3 separate regions of the Homo sapiens genome follow, and regions 2 and 3 are each linked to region 1. The links are contacts of gene promoters, found by promoter capture Hi-C in blood cells and fetal thymus (Javierre and others, 2016). All regions are on one chromosome and are shown on one strand. Each heading gives the region's core, a stretch centred on a gene start or on the middle of the fragment in contact. The rest is flanking DNA. Distances are from core to core; before and after follow the strand shown. Region 1 holds the start of PRRT2 (proline rich transmembrane protein 2). Region 2 holds the start of NFATC2IP (nuclear factor of activated T cells 2 interacting protein). Region 3 holds the start of CD2BP2 (CD2 cytoplasmic tail binding protein 2).

Region 1 (3,176 bases), core at 529-3,028:
CCTCTTCTGTCAGACCTGACCCCACACAAACCTGTCCCCTCGGTTGTGTTGAAGTCCCCTGGACAGTGGGCAGGGGTGGCAGAGGACACGAGCAGCCACTGCCCGTACCCCCTCTCCTCTCTGTAAGCCCATGCCCTGTCTTCCCAGGGACTTGTGAGCCTCTTCCCTCGACGGTCCTCTTCTCTCCTTCCAGTCCTCTCCCCCTGCTGTCTGCAGCCCCTCCCCGGGGAGTTGGTGCTTTCTTTTCCTTTTTTTTTTTTTTCCAGGGGGAGGGAGGAGAGGAAGGAGGGGGATCAGAGCTGTCCCAAAGAGGGAAAGCGGTGAGGTTTGAGGAGGGGCAGAAGCAGGGCCGGCAAAGGTTGTACCTTCATAAGGTGGTATGGGGGGTTGGGGTCAGGCCCTGAACATCGTCCTACTTGAGAATCTGTCAGGGGAAAAAGTCAAGGGGAGCAGGAGGAAGAGCCAGGAGGGCCAGAGGCAGAGAAGAGATGGAGTCTTAGGGGCCAGGGTGAGCGAGGGGTCCAGGGCCTAGAGGTGCTTCCTGGGGGCGGGGGAATGCAGCCAGTGTCCCCCTCCCCTCTTCCACCCCAGCTCCAGCCCTGGTCTTGTCTTTTCATCCCTCTTCCCCACGACAGAAGAAGTTGTGGCCCTGGCCATGTCATCGTGTTCCTGTGTCCCCTGCATGTACCCCACCCTCCACCCCTTCCTTTTGCGCGGACCCCATTACAATAAATTTTAAATAAAATCCTGTTTCTGGCTCTGGATTGAATGAATTGCCCTCACTAAGAACTGCCGCCAACCCCAAGGGTTTCTTCTCGGCCTGGTGTCCGTCAATCCAGCCTTGCTCTGCCCTGTGAGGCTGTGAGGTTCTGGCTCCGCCCTCCCCAGGGGCAGCCTTACTGGCGGCAGCACAGATACAGGGCGGGGCCAAGGCTGTGGCTGTGGAGAGCAAGTTCCAGGTCTCTGGGGAATTCCCAACTCGGACAGGCCCAGAATAGCCCCTGGAGGTTTGAAGAGGCCCCGTCAGAAACCCAAACAGAGCTGCCAGACGGGAATGCCGCCCTCCCCCGTCCACACTCATGGCCGCTGCTCAGCCCCCAGCCGCATCCCTCCCCACGCGCGTCACGGCCCTGAGGCCATGGTGGGTGGATGCGGCTGCGGAAAGGCTGGGGAGTCCGAGCCCTAGGACTGGGAGCAGCGAGGTAGAGAATGAAAGCTGCACCTGTCCCTCATCCTGGGCATGGGCCACTCTGTGTTTACACGGGCTCCTCTGCCCAGCTCCTCCTGCCCCTTGGAATTCCCTTTCCTGTCCCCGCTCCGTCCTTTCCAGGGCCCCTTTTTTGAGCCTTCCAGCGCCAGTTTCTGCCGCTCCTTTCTGCAGGCTCCATTCTCTCCAAACCCCACCCTGCTCCTCCTCTGCAGCCTCCCCGCGTCTTGCCCCATCTTCCTTGCCCTCCTGCTCGTAGAGACGCCTCCACCCGGTCCTGCCTGTCTCACTGGTCCCGTCTCCTCGCAGAACCCTCTCCGTTTCCCCCAAATCCCCGTCTCTTCCAGGAATCCCGGTGACCGTTGGCGGGAGGGGCCGGGGACTTAAGAAGGAGGCGTCTCTCCTGGAGGCGCGCGTGAGAAGGGGCAGGGAGGGGGCGCGAGTGGTCCCCGGGCCGGTTGCCTGGGTAACGCGTGGCTCCCTTGGGCTGGCGGGAGGGGCCGGAGGCTCGCGAGGGGCGGGGGCGGCGACGGCGGCGGAGCGTAGGGGAGGGGACCGGAGAGGAGGGGATGAGCACACGGGAGAGGAGAAGAGGGAGACCCGCCGCCTCCCTCCCTCCCTAGCTGACTTGCTCCCTCCCGGGCTGCGGCTGCTGCAAAAGCCAGCAGCGGCAGCGGGAGCTGTCCGGAGGCCGGCGTCGAGGTGAGACCCGGGCAGACTGAGGCTGCGGGTAGGAGTGGACCGACCGACGGCTGACGCCGGGCGGACTGCACGGGAATGCGGGTGTCTGGAGGGCTGGTGGTGGTGCTGGGCGGGCTGAACCATCGGGAGGAGGCGCCAGCCCACCGAAGGCGAGGGAAGCCCCGGGAGAGGGGCTGACAGGGGATCGAAGGAGATAACCAGGTCCCCCAGAAAGGGGCGGGAGCGTCCTCGCCCTAAACGCGCAGCAAGAAAACCCGCACCGCCTGGGAGCCCAGGGAGGAGGGGAGGATGCAGAGGGAGTGGAATGCGAATGTCGGGTCCTCTGCCCAGTCGGCCTGTCGGAGTGCTATTTGCACAGCTCGTTGATTTTGGGGTGCTGGGATCTGAGAGTCTGGATCTTGTTGGATGGACCCAGGGAGAGACCCTGGAGAAGGTCCTGTTTACAAAAGGGTTAATCTTCCCCAGGGCTCTCCAAGCAGAAGACTTTGAGTAGAGCACTCCTCCCGCAGGGATGTCCCACCCTAAGGCAAAGGAAACCCCAACTTTTCTTCCTCTCCCTAGAGGCAGTGCAAGGCTGGCCCTGAGACAGGAATGTGGCCCAATTGGGCCTGCAGTGCTGAGCGCCCTCTTCCCTCCTCACCCCAAGCCTATCTCCTCCTCTTCCAGGGTTTGCCGCTGTCTCTGCTATTCCATCCTCCCCATAGGGGCTCTCTCCCCTCTCCCATCTCAAGATGGCAGCCAGCAGCTCTGAGATCTCTGAGATGAAGGGGGTTGAGGAGAGTCCCAAGGTTCCAGGCGAAGGGCCTGGCCATTCTGAAGCTGAAACTGGCCCTCCCCAGGTCCTAGCAGGGGTACCAGACCAGCCAGAGGCCCCGCAGCCAGGTCCAAACACCACTGCGGCCCCTGTGGACTCAGGGCCCAAGGCTGGGCTGGCTCCAGAAACCACAGAGACCCCGGCTGGGGCCTCAGAAACAGCCCAGGCCACAGACCTCAGCTTAAGCCCAGGAGGGGAATCAAAGGCCAACTGCAGCCCCGAAGACCCATGCCAAGAAACAGTGTCCAAACCAGAAGTGAGCAAAGAGGCCACTGCAGACCAGGGGTCCAGGCTGGAGTCTGCAGCCCCACCTGAACCAGCCCCAGAGCCTGCTCCCCAACCAGACCCCCGGCCAGATTCCCAGCCTACCCCCAAGCCAGCCCTTCAACCAGAGCTCCCTACCCAGGAGGACCCCACCCCTGAGATTCTGTCTGAGAGTGTAGGGGAAAAGCA
Region 2 (3,176 bases), core at 455-2,954, 860 kb before region 1:
AGGTGGAGGTTGCAATGAGCTGAGATCGCACCATTGCACTCCAGCCTGGGCAACAGAGCAAAACTCCGAATCAAGAAAAAGAAAAAAATAAAATAAATAGTCGGGCGCAGTGGCTCACGCCTGTAATCCCAGCACTTTGGGAGGCCAAGGCGGGGGCGGAGGGGGGTGGATCACCTGAGGTCAGGAGTTCAAGACCAGCCTGACCAACATGGTGAGACCCCATCTCCACTAAAAATACAAAATTAGCTGGGCATGGTAGTGCACGCCTGTAATCAATCCCAGCTACTTGGAGACTGAGGCACGAGAATTGCTTGAATCTGGGAGGCAGAGGTTGCAGTGAACCGAGATCGAGCCATTGCACTCCAGCCTGGGCAATAAGAGCGAAACTCCATCTCAAAATAAATAAATAAATAAAATTAAATAAATGAATAAAATAAAATTTAAAAATAAATAAATACATAAGATTTTTTTTTGAGATGGAGTCTCACTCTGTTGCCCAGGCTGGAGTGCAGTGGTACAATCTTGGCTCAGTGCAACCTCTGCCTCCTGGGTTCCAGCGATTCTCCTGCCTCAGCCTCCCGAGTAGCTGAGATTATAGGCGCCTGCCACTACGCCTGTCTAATTTTTGTATTTTAGTAGAGACAGGGTTTTACCATGTTGGTCAGGCTGGTCTCGAACTCCTGACCTCAGGTGATCTGCCCACCTCGGCCTCCCAAAGTGCTGGATTATAGGCGTGAGCCACCACGCCCAGCCTTATTATTTCTATCTTTCTTTCTTTTTTTGAGAGAGAGTCTCGCTCTGTCGGCCAGGCTGGAGTGCAGCGGCAGGATCTGGCTCACTGTAACCTCTGCCTCCCGGGCTCAAGCAATTCTCCTGCCTCAGCCTCCTGAGTAGCTGGGATTACAGGCGCACGCCACCACGCCCGCCTAATTTTTGTATTTTTAGTAGAGACGGGGTTTCACCGTGTTGGCCAGGCTGGTCTTGAACTTCTGACCTCGTGATTCGCCTGCCTCGGCCTCCCAAAGTGCTGGGATTACAGGCGTGAGCCACCGCGCGCGGCCAGCCTTATTATTTCTTTAAAGCATTTTTGAGACAGGGTCTCGCCCTGTCACCCAGGCTGGGGTGCAGTGGTGCGATCTCCGCCTCCCGGGCTCCAGCGAAACTCCCACCTCAGCCTCCTGAGTAGTTGGGACCACAGAGGGGTGCCACCACGCCCGGGTAATTTTTGCATTCTTAGTAGAGACGCGGTTTCGCCACATTGGCCAGGCTGGTCTCAAACTCCTGAGCTCAACCAATCTGCCCGCCTCAGCCTTTCAAAGTGCCAGGATTACGGGCGTGAGGCACCGCGCCTGGTTAAATCCGCGGTTTCCACAGGGAATTCCAGGCCCGCCTTCCTTCTCCCGGAAACCTTACCGCTCGAGGACTACATTTCCCAGGATGCCCTGCGACTAACCAAGCCGGAAGACGGTTGTCTTGGTTGGGCGGGTCCGGGAGAGGCTCGTCTGTGGAGAGGTGGCCCAGCCAATGGGTGAGGCCGACTGAATCGAAAGCTACGGTGATTGTGCCGAGGTGATTGGAATCTTTGGCGCCTTGGTTTCAGAGGTGGGCGCATGATGAGCGGGTACAGAGACCAATGAAAAGGCGGGAAGGCGGATCCCGCGCGTGGGGCGCGAAGAGTTGCTGACGAGCAGGCTGTTTGTCCAATGCAAGGCGAAAGTCGCTGAAGGGGGCGGGGCGAGGCGAGAGGAGGCGGGCGTGTGTTGTGGAGGAAAGTGTGCCATGGCGGAGCCTGTGGGGAAGCGGGGCCGCTGGTCCGGAGGTAGCGGTGCCGGCCGAGGGGGTCGGGGCGGCTGGGGCGGTCGGGGCCGGCGTCCTCGGGCCCAGCGGTCTCCATCCCGGGGCACGCTGGACGTAGTGTCTGTGGACTTGGTCACCGACAGCGATGAGGAAATTCTGGAGGTCGCCACCGCTCGCGGTGCCGCGGACGAGGTTGAGGTGGAGCCCCCGGAGCCCCCGGGGCCGGTCGCGTCCCGGGATAACAGCAACAGTGACAGCGAAGGGGAGGACAGGCGGCCCGCAGGACCCCCGCGGGAGCCGGTCAGGCGGCGGCGGCGGCTGGTGCTGGATCCGGGGGAGGCGCCGCTGGTTCCGGTGTACTCGGGGAAGGTGCGCCCGGTCCCGGGGAGGGGACCGGCGGAAGGGCCAAGGGCTTGGCCTCCAGGGAGGGGCCGGCGTTCGGGGAGGGTAGGGCTATAGGGGTGTTGAGGCTGGCGTTCTGGGGCTGGTCCTCGGGCGTTAGGGTGTTGGAGGCAGGGAGAGGCAGGGCTCCGGGACTTTCTGCAGACTGGGGTGGTGAAGGAGGGTGGGATGCGTTGGAAGTTTAGGATTCCTAGGAGCTAGAGTCTTGGGGGCACAGGGAGGCTGAAGAGCTGGGATTCCTGAGATTTTGGAGAGGGACTGGGAGGACCTGGGGCCGTTGGATTTTGAGGTTGGGGTCCATGGCAAATGAAGCCAGGGAGCTGCAGTATTGGGGGTTGGGGTCCATGCGGGTTCAGAGAGGACTGGGCGGCTCCAGAGGCTGGGGTCCCCCGATGGTCGTGTGAGCAATGGGCTGAGAGTCCCTAAGAGTCAGGGGTAGAGGGGCGGCTAGTAACCTAGTTAAAAAGGGCAAGGAAGCATACATTTCAGAGTGTCTTAGGCAGATGGAGGAAAGGGTGAAGGGTACTTCCATTCTGAATCCTGGGGAAGCTGGACTTCTAGGTTGCCAGGAGAGGGCCAAGGTGTCCACGATCTTAGGGAGGATTTGGGAGCTGGGTGTCAGGGAAGAATTACCCCCAATTTTTTCTTTCGGTAGGGGAAGGACTTGGGCCTGACCCCTCTCCCTTCTTTGTCTTTGCAGGTTAAAAGCAGCCTTCGCCTTATCCCAGATGATCTATCCCTCCTGAAACTCTACCCTCCAGGGGATGAGGAAGGTAAGGGAGGGCCTCCAGGGAGAGGCACGCAGCCGCTGGCTTCTCTTAAGAGAATTCCTGGGGTTTATATTCCTGCAGTCAGTTGTCTCCTGAGGCTCAAGGGAAGAGCGTGGGAGAGGGGACTCCTGCATCCCAGCCACAGGAGCTGGATTGTTAACAAGCATAGAATGTATTAATGTATACATTTCTGGTGCCACCTGAAGA
Region 3 (3,176 bases), core at 257-2,756, 540 kb after region 1:
TGTAATGGGAAGATGGAGTGATTTCCCACCAACTGCCACGGGAGCAGGCCCAGCATCTGCCACTCCCAGGCCCCAGCCACGCCAGCCCCTGGGCCGCACCCAGTCAATGTTGTCCAGCCAGCTGTCTCGGATCTGAGCATCCCGGTTCAGGAAGTAGTTGCCATCGGCATCAAAGTGGCCTTCCTCCATCTCCTCCTGCAGGTTAAAGGGTGTGATCCGAACACCCCCCTCGCTGGGGAGTGTGGCTGCCTCCTGACCTGCACCAAAGACACAGGTGCCCTTTTCCAGGCATGGAAAAAAGAGACCGGAGCCTCCCTCGCTCCACACCACCAGAGGCCCCTACTTGTTTTTCCAGCAGAGTGTATTCTTGGGTACAGCTTACCTTCTACATCCTCTGAGGCCAAGATGTCATATTTGCTGGACCCCCCATCATCATCATCCTCCTCCTCATCGCTATCCAAAGAGTGTTTGCCTTTAAAGCGGCTCCCAGGACCCCCTGACCCAGCCACAGGGTCCACCAGCTGTGAGCAGGAGCCAGAAAGTTGAGAAATGCAGGTTACTGGCTACCTCCCCAAATACTTCCGGATCTGGACCCAAATATTCCCCAAATATTTCAGGATCTCGACTACTTCCCCAAATATTTCAGGAGCCACACTAAAGACGCTCCCAACCCATTCCTCAGAGAACCTGAAAAAACTAGGCTTTTCTCTGCCTGCCCGCCCCGCCCCTCTCCCGCCAGCTTTCTTCCTCTTCAGGCTTCTAGCTCCTCTTTCCCCCACACAAAGCAGTCTGGCCCCCTCACCTTCTTCTTGGGGACAATGATTTCATCCTCATCCTCCTCATCTCCCACGCCTTGGAAGGTCACTTTCCTCTTTGGCATGACGGGGCAAAGAGGTGTTTCTCAAGCTGAGGAAAGGATGCAGAGGAAGGGAACCGGGTGAGGAGGGGACTCGCCAACAGACGCAGCACAGCAAACATTTTTCCTGGTCTGTGACAGGTACAGTTTGGGAGCGGAGGGAGCACAAAAGCAGGGGCCGAAAGGAAGCTGGCAGCCAGGAGGCCTCCAGGACTTGGGTCTAGCATCCGCGAGTTAAACGGGGCGGGGACGGAGGAGCGGACCCTCTGGATCCCCCGACCCTGGCTGAAAGGAGACAGGCTTCACCACGTGACCGCCCCCAACTCCAGCCCCCGCAGTCTGCGCGCCACCGGCTCCACGGGCTGACCCCCGCTCTCTACCCTGGCTCTCTCGGAGCTCGCCGGGCCCCGGCAGACCCAGGACCTGGCGCTCTCGCCACCCCGTTCCTCCCTGCTCCGAACTCCCAATTCCGTGTGGTGAGCCCCAACTGTCCCGGGCTGTGTACAACTTAGAGGGCCACGGGGATTCGGGCGGTCCCACCCTCGCGCACTCACCTGGGAATCCGCGGAAGGCGAGGTGGAAAAAAGAAGAGATGCTTGCGCCAGGGCTACATCCGGGGCACCCGGCCGCCATCACCCGGAAGAGGACTGCGGAAGGCGCCCGGGAAGCCCGGAAGTGGCTTCACTCGGGTTAGGGAACTAACTGGAAGAGCGGGCGGAAGTATGCGATAAGCGAGCGAAGACGCCTCCACCCTCTCTCCCGCCAGAAGTGACGTCAGTCACGTGGGAGGACAATGGTGAGAAGAGGGAACCTAAGAATTCCTGGACTCTGACTGGGCGTGAGAAATGGCCGGAAGTAGCTTCGAGTCCGTCATTCAAGCAGTAGAGGCTCTGGAGAAAAACTGGAGCGCATCTGCTTAAAGGGCCGCCCAGGGTCAGGATGGAGGGGCAAAGTCCGAGCAGGGTCAGTGGGTTGCTGCTCCGTTTTCCTGTCCTGGGTTCAAGTCACCCTTCCCCCAGGGCTAAGGGCTCAGCGCCCCTACCGTCTCGTTAGAAATCCTGCCTTCCCATTCCTATGGTCCAGTGGTCAGCCCTCCTAGCCTGAGAGGTGCAGCCTTGCCTCTCCGAGGGGAAGCCTGACTCTCCCGATGGCCAGCCTGGGGCCCCTGGACGGCTCTCCGGGCACTTTCTGAACACACCTCCCTTTAGGACCCAGGGGAAATAATTTGTCCCACGCCCATACCCTGGGCGAGTTCCTGGTTTCTGAGGTGGGAGAGCCATCACTGGAGAGGTGGCATTGGCGCCAGTACTCAGGCCAGAAGCCCCTTGTGCCCTGCTCTCAGGTAGGCCTGGAAAAGGGCAACAGTGCCTCTCTGCAGCATGAAGCCCCCCTGAGCAAACAGGGCCTAGCAACTCCTGCCCAGGTAGCGGAATGTGGCCCAAGCAGAAGGGGGAATTGGGGAGGTAGCGGGGATCAGCCCCTGTGCTGGGACCCCTAGCTCTTGACACTCGGAGCCTGCATCCCCCTAAGCCAAGACTGTGCGCAGGCAGCACGTGCTGAAGCCAGACGAGGACAGCATGAGAGTTCCCCTACTCTTCCCCCAGGCAACTAGATGGGCCACTTCTCTCTCCCTAGGGGTTTCCTCCCATATTGGATCACGATGAAAACTGCACAGAAAGTCCGTGCTCAGTTTCTTCCATGGTTACAGAACACAGGCCCCAGACCAGGAAGGCATTCTGCTAAAGAAGGGGACCCGAAACCTCAGCTACCAGCGCCGATGGTTCATCCTCCGAGGAAACCTCCTCTTCTACCTAGAACACTAGACCGACCATGCACCCCTGAGCCTCATCCTGTTAGAGAACTGCCAGGTGGAACCACACCTTAAGGCTGCAGAACCCTATGCCTTTACCATCCTGACCCCTGGGGTGGAGGGCACAGGTGGGCGGGCCTACAAGCTGGCTGCAGAAACCCAGGAAGAGCTGGAGACTTGGCTGTGGGCACTGGCTGGCGCGAGCTGGAGGCGGCTGGCTGGGCTGCTGTCCCCCCTCCCCCCCCACCAAAACCCAATACTGGGAGCTGTGCCAGGCAACTGGCCAAGAACCCATCTCATCCCCAGAGGACAGTGGCTTTCTAGCCACTGTGAGTACCCCCTCCAGCTTCCAGGAGTTGCATGAGCACTTTGGGAAGGAGATCCGGGTGCTGCACGTGGTACATAGAGAGCTCCAGGCAGCCAGTGACAATGGAGACAGCAGATCCCAGGCAAAGATGGAGCAGGAGCTCAACCAGTGTCTGATGAGTGACTGAGAGATGGACCCAAAGC

Evidence for each region. The method cuts DNA at HindIII sites, captures the fragments that hold promoters and counts their contacts. A CHiCAGO score of 5 or more calls a contact.
Region 2: the fragment with the promoter of NFATC2IP here is called in contact with the fragment with the promoter of PRRT2 in region 1 in 2 of 17 cell types (total B cells and fetal thymus); the score reaches 6.3 in total B cells.
Region 3: a contact is called between the fragment with the promoter of CD2BP2 here and the fragment with the promoter of PRRT2 in region 1, in 1 of 17 cell types (neutrophils). The highest score is 6.7, in neutrophils.

What each region holds. Positions count from the first base shown.
Region 1 is chr16:29,810,415-29,813,590 of GRCh38, forward strand. PRRT2 (proline rich transmembrane protein 2) reads left to right here and starts at 1,779. Exons shown (of 4, transcript NM_145239.3): 1 at 1,779-1,909; 2 at 2,576-3,176. The coding sequence starts at 2,641. MAZ (MYC associated zinc finger protein) reads left to right here. Exons shown (of 5, transcript NM_002383.4): 5 at 1-750. All of the region lies in intron 2 of MVP-DT (MVP divergent transcript), which reads right to left. RefSeq lists silencers at 1,152-1,231, 1,632-1,781. The HindIII fragment of the contact is 10,276 bases long and covers 1-3,176 here.
Region 2 is chr16:28,949,233-28,952,408 of GRCh38, forward strand. NFATC2IP (nuclear factor of activated T cells 2 interacting protein) reads left to right here and starts at 1,705. Exons shown (of 8, transcript NM_032815.4): 1 at 1,705-2,166; 2 at 2,900-2,972. The coding sequence starts at 1,780. RefSeq lists enhancers at 1,027-1,561, 1,581-2,081 and silencers at 1,801-1,900, 2,041-2,160. The HindIII fragment of the contact is 4,735 bases long and covers 1-3,176 here.
Region 3 is chr16:30,353,802-30,356,977 of GRCh38, forward strand. It overlaps CD2BP2 (CD2 cytoplasmic tail binding protein 2), which reads right to left and starts at 1,507. Exons shown (of 7, transcript NM_006110.3): 1 at 1,411-1,507; 2 at 803-906; 3 at 383-521; 4 at 100-257. The coding sequence starts at 880. It overlaps CD2BP2-DT (CD2BP2 divergent transcript), which reads left to right and starts at 1,633. Exons shown (of 2, transcript NR_184233.1): 1 at 1,633-1,819; 2 at 2,492-3,176. RefSeq lists enhancers at 521-1,472, 557-1,756, 1,447-1,741, 1,473-2,424, 1,479-1,538 and 1 more. The HindIII fragment of the contact is 7,065 bases long and covers 1-3,176 here.